Regions from separate parts of the Homo sapiens genome. Here regions 1 and 3 are each linked to region 2. The links are contacts of gene promoters, found by promoter capture Hi-C in human tissues and cell types (Jung and others, 2019). All regions are on one chromosome and are shown on one strand. The core of a region is centred on a gene start or on the middle of the fragment in contact, and the rest is flanking DNA. Distances in the headings are between cores, read along the strand shown.

Region 1 (3,919 bases), core at 1,260-3,759, 450 kb before region 2:
ACCCAGATCAGAGGAGAGAGCTGCACAGCAGCGGGAGCACAGCACAGGGCCCAGCCCAACGCAGGGGCAGAGAGGAGCTTCCTGCAGGCCGCCTATGCACCAGCACAGCCTTAAACCAAGGACAGCATGGATGTTCTTTATTTCCACTTTTGCTTTAAAATTCCAACTCCAGGGTTCCAATCATGCAACATTTTCTCCATCCTCCATTTTTCTTTTCTTAAAAAAGGGTTGGGGGGAACCTCATCTCTTGACAAGATCTGGCTATATTACCCAGGCGGGACATGAATGCCTGGGTTCAAGTGATCCTCCCGCCTGTCTTCCAAGTAGCTGGGACTACAGATGTGTGTCGTCACACCCAGCTCCATCTTAGTGAAACCACCTCAGCCTGCATTCAGAATCAGAAGACATCATGGATCTAAGATCCCAGCACCCATCCATCATGAGTGTGGGTGACTAGGACATCACTCACCAGCTGGGCTGAGCCAAGGGAGGAGAATCCCTCCCTAACATTCTGGAGTGAGCCTCAGTGAGCAGCCATCCTCCTTAGCAACAGATGGCGGCTAGATAGAAGGGCTGCACTTCTTTTTTCTTTTTCTTTTTCTTTTTTTTTTTTTTAAAGATGGGGTCTCACTCTTTCGCCCAGGCTGGAGCGCAGTGGTGTGATCATGGTTCACTGCAGCCTCCACCTCCCAGGCTCAAGCAATCCTCCCACCTCAGCCTCTCAAGAAGCTGGGACTACAGGTACACATCACTAAACTTGGCTAATTTTTAAATTTTTTCTAGATACAGAGTCTTGCTATCTTGCCCAGGCTGATCTGGAACTCTGGGGCTCAAGCAATCCTCCCTCTCTGGCCTCCCAAAGTGCTGGGACTATAGGAATTAGTCACCACTCCCAGCTTGCACTTCTTAATATACCCACTAGATGTCCCCAGAGAGGGCAAATATAGAACCACCAGGCTCAAAGTAGCAGTATATTACATTTTTTAAAAGAATCTATTTCTATATGCAAAAAAAACTTGCATAGTTCTTTGGCCAAAACCAAGACTTTGAACTAAAAGAACCTTCGTTAACTCAGTACTCAGTGCAAGGGAAACCTCACCACTTTTATTACTGAAAATATCAACCTCCACATGACTAGCTTTGATTTTACTATCTGTAGATTAATAAAATACAAAGATATTTAAAAGTATTGCTGAATTCTTAGTAACCTTTTTTACCATTCTATATTTTTTAGATAGGGTCTCACTCTGTTGCTCAGGCTGGAGTACAGTGGCACAATCACAACTCACTGGGCTCACATGAGCCCAGCCTCCATCTTCTGGGCTCAGGTGGTCTTCCCACCTCAGCCTCCCAAAGTGCTGGGATTACAGGTGTGAGCCACCACGCCCAGCGTGCTCTGTATTTTGAAGTCATGATATTATCTGTGTACATTTGAAATATAACAGCACATACATCTGATGCACATTTATTCAGACAACAGAGGCCAGCTGAGTGTTCTGCTTCTAGGGCCCCCAGGGTGGAGGTGCCCAAGTAGAAACTCCTGGACCAGAGCCTCTGCTCAAAGCCTTCTTCTTCCTGTTCTAAAAACAGCACAAAAAGTAACTGCCTTACCCAACATTGTGGCAGTCACAAACAGAACTCAAATGACCTAGTTTATACCTTGTCACTGATTACCGTTCCCTGCCCCAACAAATATAGAAACTCAACAAACGTTCAAATATTCACAGGCCACTTTTGCATTCTTTCCACCATCCACAATGGTACCCAAGCACATCATTCTCTTATAATTCCAGATTTCAAAGAATTCCAAGGAACCCCATCCTCACCATCTCTAGGAAGAACTCACTCCTAAGAACTCACAGAGTGCCAGCCTGGACAACATGGTGAAACCCCGTCTCTACTAAAAATACAACAATTAGCTGGGCTTGGTGGCTGGAACCTATAATCTCAGCTACTCAGGAGGCTGAGGCAGGAGAATCGCTTGAACCCAGGAGGCGGAGGTTGCAGTGAGATGAAATCGCGTCACTGCATTCTAGCCTGGGCAAACAGAGTGAGACTCCATCTCAAAAAAAAAAAAAAAAGACATTATTTATGTCTTTTAAAGGACAGAAATTCTACAAGATTGAATAATTTGGCAGGAGACATTTACATATATACACACACACATATACATATATACTTTTATATATATAAATACACACTTTTTTATATATATACTTTTTTTAGAGACAGGCTCTCCCTCTGTTGCCCAGGCTGGAGTGTAGTGGTGCCATCATAGCTCACTGCAGCCTCAAACTCCTGAGCTCAAGCAATCCTCCTGCCTCACCCTCCTGAGTAGCTGGAACTACAAGAACATGCCACCACATTTGCCTAACTTTTTTCTGTAGAAATGAGTTCTCATATGTTGCCCAGGCTGGTCTCAAACTCCTGGCCTCAAGTGATCCTCCCACTCAGCCTCCCAAACAAAGCTTTGGGGCTACAGGCATGAGCCACTGTGTCTGGCATAGATTTCTTGTATTTCTCACCTGCATTTTCACATCTATGATCTTCAAAACACTCCTCCACTGGTACTTGGAGAGTGGCTGTGGCCCACGGATTTTGTAAGCATACGCTGTCCATTTGCAAGTTTGATAATTGCTCAGCCATTGCAATTAAGCAATGTTCTGCTTTTGCGGCACCAATAATAACTAGCTTTTAAACTTTTATTTTTCACAGCCCTTTTGTGAGAGAACATTTTCACAGATCTTTTCTGTTGTGTTGTTAGGAATACAGTAAGAAGGAATGATATTTGGCTTCCTCAATAAAGGAATCTATATTAGTCAGCGTTCCCCAGAGGAACGGAACCAATAGAACACACAAGTATAGATATATGAGAGGGGATTTATCAGGGGAATTGGCTCCCACAATTATGGAGGCTAAAAAGTCCCAAGACAGGCCATCTGCAAGTTGGAGACCCTGAGATGCCAGTAGCGTGGCTTAGGCCAAGTCCAAAGGCCTGAGAACGAGCGAAGCCTTTGGTGTAACTTGGTGGTCCAAGGCCAAAGGCCTCCTGACCACAGACTGCTGGTGGAAGCCCTAGATTCCCAAGGCCAGTGAGCCAGGAGTTCTGATGTCCAAGGCAGCAGAAGAAAGTCTGTCCCAGATTTCAAAGAGGGATGGATTCGCCTCTGTATTTGATCTCTCCATGCCCATGGCCAATTGGCTGGTGCCTGCCAACCATGAGGGCAAATCCTCCCCACCTGGTCCACTCAGACTCACAGGCCAATCTCCTGTGGAAACCCCCACACATATACACACACACAGACACCTAAAATAAAGCTTCACTGGGTTCCCAGGTATTCCTTAATCCAGTCGAATTGATACCTGAATTTAACTCCACAATTCCCCCTGCTTGTCAATTGGCACCCACAGGCATCGCCTTAAACCATACTTAAGTTTCCGAATGAAGACAGTAACAAAGAAATTTTGTTATTTAGTTGCATCCATCTGATGTGACACAACATGTATCCTGCATACAACAGAAATACACAATCCCTTCCCCAGAATTCAGCTTTCAGGATTTCAACATTTGAGATTCTACTCTTTCAGGATTATAATTTTTTGAAGTTAGATCTTTTGGGGGTTATGGCATTCAGGATAGTGTTGTGAAAGGAAAATTAAATCTCAGAACCCCAAACTCACAATGCCAAAGGGAGAAGTTAAGTCTGGAAACTGAGTCACACAAAAACTGCCTTCCATTCTGTTCCTCAATAGATAGCTGCAAAGAGAGAGGGCCACACATCTCCCCAGGTGGCCTCCCTCGCAAATTGCTCACAAGGAAGTTCCTTGCAGTTCCCAAAATCTTCACCCTAAAACAGAGTTCTGCTGAATTTCACCCTGATTTTATTTATTTATTTATTTATTTATTTTTGTCACCCAG
Region 2 (4,276 bases), core at 830-3,329:
GCAAGTTGGCCCACAGTGTTCAGTGTCACACAATCTGTGATGGCTTCTGGATGTGGCGACATCACCAAGTCTGGTGCTCTCTGGGCAAGGGGATGAAGAAGTGCCGCTGGTTGGGCAAATCAAGACCTGCTCCTTTCTGGGTTCTTCTGCATCTGTTTGGAAGCCCTGGTGAGGAGGTCTCTGTTCTGTCAGAGAGCAGTTCTTCGGTGGGACTCCTGTTCCTGGGGCTCCCTCCTTCCTGCAACATAAAGAGCTGCTTTGCTCCAGAGAAGCTGGGGCTGATGCCTGGGTAACAAATTTATTTTAGTTGAAACTTTCATGGAAAACAGTGTTCTTCACGTCAGCACAACTTCCATTTTGGGCTGGATAATCCTCTGACATAAGGAGTGGTCCTGTGCATTGCAGGATGTTTAAGAGCATTTCTAAACATGCACTAGACACTAGGACACCCCTTCTCCCTGTTGTGACAATCAGAAACGTCTCCAGGCCGGGCGTGGTGGCTCACGCCTGTAATCCCAGGACTGTGGGAGGCCAAGGCAGGTGGATCACCTGAGGTCAGGAGTTCAAGATAAGCCTGGCCAATATGGTGAAACCCCACCTCTACTAAAAATACAAAAAATTAGCTGGGCATGGCCATGCATGCTTGTAATTCCAGCTGAGATTACAAGCTGGGAGGCTGGGGCAGGAGAATCAGTTGAACCTGGGAGGTGGAGGTTGCAGTGAGCCAAGATCACACCACTGCCCTCCAGCCTGGGCGACAGAGAGAAACTCAGTCCCCTCTCCCCCCACCAAAAAAGTCTCCAACATTTCCAAAGTTCCCTAGGGAGCAAAATCCTCCTGGTGAAGAAGTGACCTAAGGCCTTAAACCTGATTCTCTTGGCATTAATTAGAACCCTGCTATCCATGACTACAGCCTCCAATCACATCAACTACTGAGCACTGGAAATGTGGCTAGGACCACATGTTGAAATAACATTTTGGATACACTGAGAAAACCACAGTATGTTCTTAAAATTAATTTCATGTTTTAGATTTTCATGTAGCTACTAGTTTAACATTTAAAATTACGTATGTGACTCATCTTCACTGCCCTAGAATATCAGACTGACTTCTAAAGACAGAGACAGGAGGGACAGCACAGGAGGTGGCAGGGGCCTCAGTCTAACCCAGAGGCTCTGGAGACATCCCAGAAACCCCACAACAAATACACTTGCCACATAGTAAGATTCTGTCCACACTGACTTCACAATCATTGTCCTGGGGTTTTGGGGACAATCACTCAGTGCTGTGAAGGCTGCAATGCTGGGTTAGGTAGGTAGGCCATTACAAACAGCCTGATTCGGGGAGTAAAGTGTTTATGTATTGACATCCTAGCTCTCTCATCCTTTGTGAGCTTGGCTCTATCTTTTCACTCCTCCTTCTTCATTTTTAATGATATAAATAGGGTGGTTGTGAGAATTAAACGAAATACTACATGAAAAGAACAAAGTGTCTTCCAAATATAACGGGAATCAACATTTACATGCTGCTTAGTAACTAGCGCTTAGCTAAATGCTTTACAGGGGATGGCTTACCTCTGAACGACACAAAGCAGTTTTTACTAATATCCTCATTTTCAAACGCTCAAGTGACAGAGCCAAAATTCACGAGGTCCTTCTAGCTCCTAGGCTCGGCCTCTCACCGCAGACCCACGGGCTGTACGCGCTTTGTGGCAGGTTCATGGTCAATACAATAAACGCGCATTCCCCTCCTGAAGCCAGCACCGCGTTTTCCGACGCCTGGCTGCATTCTGGCGCCCATACCTCGGCCCGCACCGAGCATCTTCCAACTAGGACTCAGCCCCACCTAACGCCCCCGGAGCCCGCCCCCACCGGCCCTTCTCAGGCTGAGGTCCCGGGCCGGCCGAGGCACAGGGAGCGACGGCCTGCTTTGGGGGAGTTCCCGGGACGTCGCGTTCCCGCCCCCTGGACACTAGCACATCCCTCCCTGCAGGTCCGCAATCCGCGTGGAGGCCCGGCGCTCTCACCTGAGCTGCGAACCCTCTGCACCAGCAAACACTAACAGGGAGAAGCCGGAAAGTGGGGTTGACTGCACATGCGCAGACGAAAACGCGCATATCCGTTCCCAGCATGCTGCGCGGTAACCCATAACATGCAAGACTACGTTTCACATGCAGTACGGCGCCAGCTGTCAGTGTTTTTTTGTTTGTTTTTCCCCCAAGATTTATGGCGTAATAACATGGACCGTCCTGATAACTGGAGCCCGGGTTCTGTCAGAGCCCCAGAGGTTGTGGGTTAGACTTGATGACATAACAGCAAATGCAGCGTGTGGTTACAGAAAGCAAGAGCCGCGGAAGACGTTTGAAAACAATTGGGAAAATTTGTATACGGACTGGAAATTAGAATTATTAATTAATTGTGGCAGCATTGGGATTATGTAGGTAATCTTGCTTATTCATAAAGAGATGTCTATGTAAGTATTTAGGATTGTATTATGTTTGTAAGTTTTTGGGTTTTTTGGTTTTTTTTTTTTTTTTTGAGACGGAGTCTTACTCTGTCGCCCAGGCTGGAGTGCAGTGGCGCGATCTCGGCTAACTGCAACCTCCGCCTCCCGGGTTCAAGCGATTCTCCTGCCTCAGCCTCCCAAGTAGCTGGGACTACAGGCGCCCGCCACTACGCCCAGCTAATTTTTGTATTTTTAGTAGAGACGGGGTTTCACCATGTTGGCCAGGCTGGTCTCGAACTCCTCACCTCAAGTGATCCGCCTGCCTTGGCCTCCCAAAGTGCTGGGTATACAGGCGTGAGCTACCACTCCCGGCCCGTTTGTAAGTTCTTTTTAAAAAATAATTAGAAATGGGAAGTATGGCAAAATGTTAAGAATATCTACTTCTAGAATATGGACATGCTTATTGACTATGTGTTGGAAAATTTTATAATATAAAGTTGATAAAGGGAAAATTGGGACTGTAATGTTACAAGTGTGCCTTTTAACTTAGAGCTGCCACAAAAATACATAAACAGCTTTGTGAATAAAGCCGTAAAATGTAACAAATACTAGAAAATGGAAACCATTATTAACATAAAAGAATAATATTTGTGATCCTCAGTTTATCTCTGGGGGGAAAAAAAGAAAAAGCAAGTAAGCTGTTCAGCATTACATAATACCTGAAGTACACACAATCCCAACTAAGAAAACCGTTATCCACAAATTATGCATCTCCTAGAGATGAGCTTGCTTAAATCTTATGTGGTATGCTTCTGAAATCAGGAACCAAATTAGGAACCTCTCAGCACAGTATTTTATGACACTCTTTTTAGTAACACACATACACTCACACACACACGGTTGATACTTTCTAACAGGTTATTTTATATGGCAATGATAAGTTTTGATTAGCAAGAAAAAAGATTAATGGCAACAGTAAACTAGTGCAGTATATATGAATCAAGGTATAAAATTTTACTGTTGACACTGAAAAACACTTTAATAGATACTGGAGGAAAAGACTAACATTTGTTTTTAAAAATTCTAATCATCTATGTTTTCTAAGTATATATTTTCTTTTTTTGACATTTATATATTTTGCCTGTTTTCCTAAAGGAACTATTCCAATTTTCATTCTAATAAAAACTTATGGTAATGATCAGAAAAGAATTGAAAATGCATAGCAATATCTCTATATTTACTATGTATACTATCACTAAATATTTAAAAATTTATCCTGGTGCAGTAAAAGTTCAACTATATGAAAAAGAAAGAATGTAGTATGTATCAGCTGGCTTTTAAAGCAGTGGAAAGAGAACCTTCAGTAACCTTGTTAGGACAATGAGATAGGTGCTGGGACAAAGGACATATCCATGGCACTAACATTACAATCAATAATTTTCACAAGGATTCATTCAACAATAAGCAATTAATAATATCAAAGTTTTAAATTTTTAAATTATACATTTCTTAAGTTTTTAAGAGAAACAGGTGTTTTAAAAAGATAAACCCTTTAATTCCTTTCCAAGGAAAGTCTCGCCCTTCACATCTGTCTGAAGGCTGAGACCTTGCCTGGTGCCCAAAGAGCTGCTCTCCGCCAACTTCCAAGTTCGGCGCTGTGTGTGTAGATGCAGCACCACCGCAGCTGATAAATATTTGCAGTGAGGTTTGGTTTGTTTGTTTGTTTTTGAGACCGGGTCTCACTATGTCACCGAGGCTGGAGTGAAGTGGTGCGATCACGGCTTATTGCAGCCTGGACTTCCTAGGCTCAAGTGATCCTCCCACCTCAGCT
Region 3 (4,475 bases), core at 956-3,455, 260 kb after region 2:
GCTACTAAAAATACACAAAAATTAGCTGGGCATGGTGGTGAGCACTTGCAATCCCAGCTACTCGGGAGGTGGAGGCAGGAGAATCTCTTGAACCCAGGAGGCAGAGGTTGCAGTGAGACGAGATCACGCCATTGCAATCCAGCCTGGGCAACAAGAGCTAAACTCCGTCTCAAACAAGCAAACAAAAAAAACACCAAAAACCAAAAATACAAAAAACCCATCACCATATGTTGTGCCACCATCTACCACAGCAATGACACCAATTCCTTCTTGGCTTTCCTGTGGAGACAGGGTCTGAATCTGACGCTGTCTCACCTGATTCTTCACTGGCGTCACGTAGCCTTTCTTTCTCCAATCCACAGATTTGGGAAGATCAAGAAACAGAGGCTCACGGAACACTTTCCCCTTCCTGAATTTCTGGTTTCGAAAGCAACCCATCATCTGCCTGAATTCTTCATTGGTCTTCAAGGAGAAGTAAATAAAATGTTAAAAGCAAGACTATTTTGGTGAAGAACTGAGAAGCAGCACAGAGTTCAGCAATCCTTGCCACACTCACCATGTCACCAAAAGCATTCATGGCCATTGTGAAGCCATGTTTCCCTTGGCTGTATTCCCCATTGTGCAGTTCAATCATTTTCATATTCTTTTCCCACACTGCTCTCCTCCATCCTTCTTCATTCTAGAGGCAAACATATAGCTGGTGGACTTTATGTCTACTTACCCAACCCATGTTCACCAAGCCGATTTGCGGGCAGAAATGGAAGAGAAACCATGGCCAGGGATGGGTTGATACTTCTCTGGGAGCTGTTCTCCAAGCCAAGACACAATGGAGATATATGCCCATATTGCACCTATAATGGGTGCTGTTAGGTTATTGCCTGGTAAGGTCTGGTGTCTAGAAGCTACTCTCTGGCTATCAACTCCCAACAGCGAGGACCATTCTCTCCAGAGTCCCTCTGGACAGTTTCAGATGTTACCAACCGCGCCATATAATCTTCTGTGTGTTGCCTTCCACTGGTACCACTTTGTATCCAAATTTTGGTCAAATTTTGGAACAGCGGAGGCTATTCCCAAGCAAAAGGCAGCCAGGACGAGCGAAAGATTCATGTTTCAAAACCTAGAAAGAGAAAAGAAATGAGTATCTGATTAGACCAATCCTAAAAAGCCATCTTACAGCCCCCGTGGAATAGAAATATTTCAATTATTCTCCCTAGCATTTCCCCAAGGACTGTGGAAGAGGCTGAAACAGGCCAAGTGGAGGTATTTGATGGGCCCACCAAAATTAAAAGCAGCCTGCAGAGTTGGAGGCGTTGAAACAGCATATGCGATAATTTAGGGTATGAGAAGGGTGTGAAAGATACCTGACGGGTGAGAAGCTTAAGGCAACAACTAGAAAACTAGGAAAGAGTTGGTCCAGGTTTTGCACCAATTGTACTGAGGTCATCCAGGCAAAACCTCACTAATGAAGACGTACCATCCCAAGTAGATGCAAGCGGATCCCCAAGGAACACCACCTCACACCTTCTTGGCTGATACACAGCAGGAGATGAGCTATGTCTTCCAACCTCTCCTTTTGGAATAAAACCTTTCGGGAATCCCTTTCCAGGAGACACTGGGAAGGAGAGCACCCACTATTCCCGCCGTCCCACACTTGGGTCTGTGCTACTCGCTCCCCTAAACCGGGGCAGGGTCACAAGGCCGCGCCGCTGGAAGCCAGGGGCCCCAGGGCCAGGGCCCGGACCGAGGCAGGCAGCTCCCGGAGCTCCGGGCGGGCCAGGACCGGGGCCGCACCGCCTGCTCTCGCCCTCTGCACGCGCCGCCGCGCCCCGAGAATGTTTGCGGCGGTGCAGGGAGCGGGGGCTCCGCGGCCAGGCTGGGGGCATGAAGCCGCCCGGTCCGGTCCGGCTTCAGCCCACAGGATGACTGACCTGCCCCGCCCGGGCCCTCCCAGTGGTGCCGGCGCCTCCCTGGGGTCTCCAACCGCCCTCCCCCGTTCCCCACCTCGAGGCTGGCAGAGCTCCGGGCAGAAGCTCTCACTCCCAGAAGCGCCCGCCTCCTCTCAGTGTCCCTAAAGGGGGGTTCCCTCCTCCAGTCCCCCTTCGCCCTGTCCCTCGGTCTGGTCGGGGGCGCTCACCAGCAGCCGTCGCAGCTGCGCAGGCACCCTCAGCAAACAAGCCTCTGAGATTACAGACGTCCGCGGTCTGGTGCAGGTTCGCCCGCCTCGGGATTTAAGTTTCCAGGCGGCCTTCCCCGCCCCCACCGCCTTCCCGCGCTGCGATTGGCTGTGCCGGCCACTGGGCGGGGCCCCGGGCGCTTAGAGCCCGCGCGTGACGCAGCCCAGTCCCAACCCGTCTCAGGTCTGGGCGCGCCTACCTCAATACACCCTGGCTGCGGGAAGCTGGGCCGGGCGCCCGGGGGCTGCGCGGAGGAGGGGGAGGCGCCTCCCTCAAGGGCTCAGATCTACTGACTATCCCGACTTACTGCGCTGAGCGGGTGGTTTACAGCGAGCTCTGTGTGGTATTTCAGTCCCTACTTTAACTTAGTCCTAGAGTTTTTGGTGAAAATCTGCAGGGCCGGGAGCCAGGGTACTCTCGTTCAGTGGCTCCTGTTTAGTCCACGGCAAAGGTGGGACGGAGTGGAAGAACGCACAGCCCCCAGCAGAAGCATTACCTTCCACTTAAGGGTGGGTGCATCAGGGCTTTAGAAGAATCTGGTAAGGAAAGGCACTCCCAAAACACGGGATGGATGGTCGAGACCGGACACCAGGAGGGACGGGACTAGCTGATAGGGTGTCCAGAGACCGCGGAGCGTTTTGTGGTGCGTCCTTCCCAGTCTGTTGCATTCAGGAATTCTTCCTTCTCCCATGTCTTTCAATACCAAAAAAAAAAAAAAAAAAAAAAAAAAGAGTTACAGAAATATTTGGTTAATAAAAAAGAGAAAAGCGTTGAGAATGGTGAAATAAATTGCTTTAAAAATTTTTCTTTTGTAGAAATGGAGTTTGGCTAAGTTTCCTTAGGCTGCTCTTGAATTCCTGGCCTCAAGCGATCCTCCCCTCTCAGCCTCCCAAAAGTGGTGGGATTACAGGCGTGAGCCACTACGCCCAGTCTGAGAGTGGTGGAAATTGCTTTTACTTACCTACTCTCTGCTTATGGGTTACAACGTCTCTTCCTCAGTATTCAAAGTGTGCTTCTTTTGAGATTTAATAAATTTACTTTAAAAATGTTTAATACCGGCCGGGCGCGGTGGCTTACACCTGTAATCCCAGCACTTTGGGAGGCCGAGGCGGGCGGATCACGAGGTCATGATATCGAGACCATCCTGGCCAACATGGTGAAACCCTGTCTCTACTAAAAATGCAAAAATTAGCTGGGCGTGGTGGCGGGCGCCTGTAGTCCCAGCTACTCAGGAGGCTGAGGCAGGAGAATTGCTTGAACCCGAGAGGCGGAGGTTGCAGTGAGCTGAGATCGTGCCACTGCACTCCAGACTGGTGACAGAGCGAAACTCTGTCTCAAAAAATAAAAATAAAAATAAAAATATATAATATCAGGGTTGAGGTGATGCAGTTTGAGGAACTGCTCTTTATGGAGAAATATATGTAGCTAAAGATTTAAGGAAATCATTAATAATTCAGAAACGTTTCTAATTCTTTTTAAAGTTATATAAAAAAATCCATTATAAAAAATATGTTTTAGAAAATAAACGTCCCTTGTGCCCTCTCCATAACCCTTTTCTAGGCATATCTTTTTTTGTTTTTACAAAAATGAAGTTATAATGCATATTGATTAATAAACTCTTAAAGATTAAATTGAATAATATCCACAGTTTTTACTTGTTAATTTGAAAATTTGTGAAATCAAGTTTAGCCTAAAGCTGCCTCCCCATGTGATTTAAGTTTGGCCTAAAGGTTTCTCTGTACATAGCGAATTGTAATCTAAATGGAGGTGTAAACAGACTGTAGCCTGCTCTTGTGCCTATCCCCGAATTTCTGTAAATCAAAGAGGTTCAGTTGTTCAAACCATGTTCAAATAAGGCAAACATGGAGCTGTATCCAATCCTGCAGTTTCTGTGCCTCACTTGCCCTTTTCTGTCTATAAATCTTCCCCCATGTGGCTGCACTGGAGTCTCTCTGAGCCTACTCTGGCACTGGAGGCTGCCAGATTCACGAATTGTTTTTTGCTCAATTAAATTCTCTTAAATTTAATTTGGCTATGGATTTTCTTTTAACAAATTAAAAACAATTAAACTGACAACTTTTCAGAAGCACCATCAGGCAAATACATCTTTTTAAAAATCAATTTATTAATAATTATATGTCCTTCCTTTAAATAAATAGCAGCTTTTCCCTCTCAAATACAACTAGGGGCCAAAGCTGTCAGGTGGTTATATAAAAAATACAAAAGTATATTGTATTGCAGGCCAAGGTAGGTGGATCTCCTGAGCCTGGGAGTTTGAGACCAGCCTGGGCAACATGGCGA

Evidence for each region. The method cuts DNA at HindIII sites, captures the fragments that hold promoters and counts their contacts. A contact is called where the count stands out against the background at its distance.
Region 1: a contact is called between a fragment that was not itself captured here and the fragment with the promoter of ZNF510 in region 2, in 1 of the 25 tissues and cell types used here (IMR-90 fibroblasts).
Region 3: the fragment with the promoter of CTSV here is called in contact with the fragment with the promoter of ZNF510 in region 2 in 1 of the 25 tissues and cell types used here (adrenal gland).

The regions. Positions count from the first base shown.
Region 1 is chr9:96,327,024-96,330,942 of GRCh38, forward strand. All of the region lies in intron 9 of SLC35D2 (solute carrier family 35 member D2), which reads right to left. All of the region lies in intron 9 of SLC35D2-HSD17B3 (SLC35D2-HSD17B3 readthrough), which reads right to left. Among named protein-coding and RNA genes, the nearest start is that of HSD17B3, 27 kb to the left of the region's middle. The HindIII fragment of the contact is 3,616 bases long and covers 702-3,919 here.
Region 2 is chr9:96,776,008-96,780,283 of GRCh38, forward strand. ZNF510 (zinc finger protein 510) reads right to left here and starts at 2,080. Exons shown (of 6, transcript NM_014930.3): 1 at 2,027-2,080; 2 at 1-238. The coding sequence starts at 62. RefSeq lists a silencer at 1,841-1,940. The HindIII fragment of the contact is 14,118 bases long and covers 1-4,276 here.
Region 3 is chr9:97,036,937-97,041,411 of GRCh38, forward strand. It overlaps CTSV (cathepsin V), which reads right to left and starts at 2,206. Exons shown (of 8, transcript NM_001333.4): 1 at 2,135-2,206; 2 at 982-1,117; 3 at 557-679; 4 at 316-462. The coding sequence starts at 1,107. RefSeq lists a silencer at 2,241-2,550. The HindIII fragment of the contact is 6,962 bases long and covers 1-4,475 here.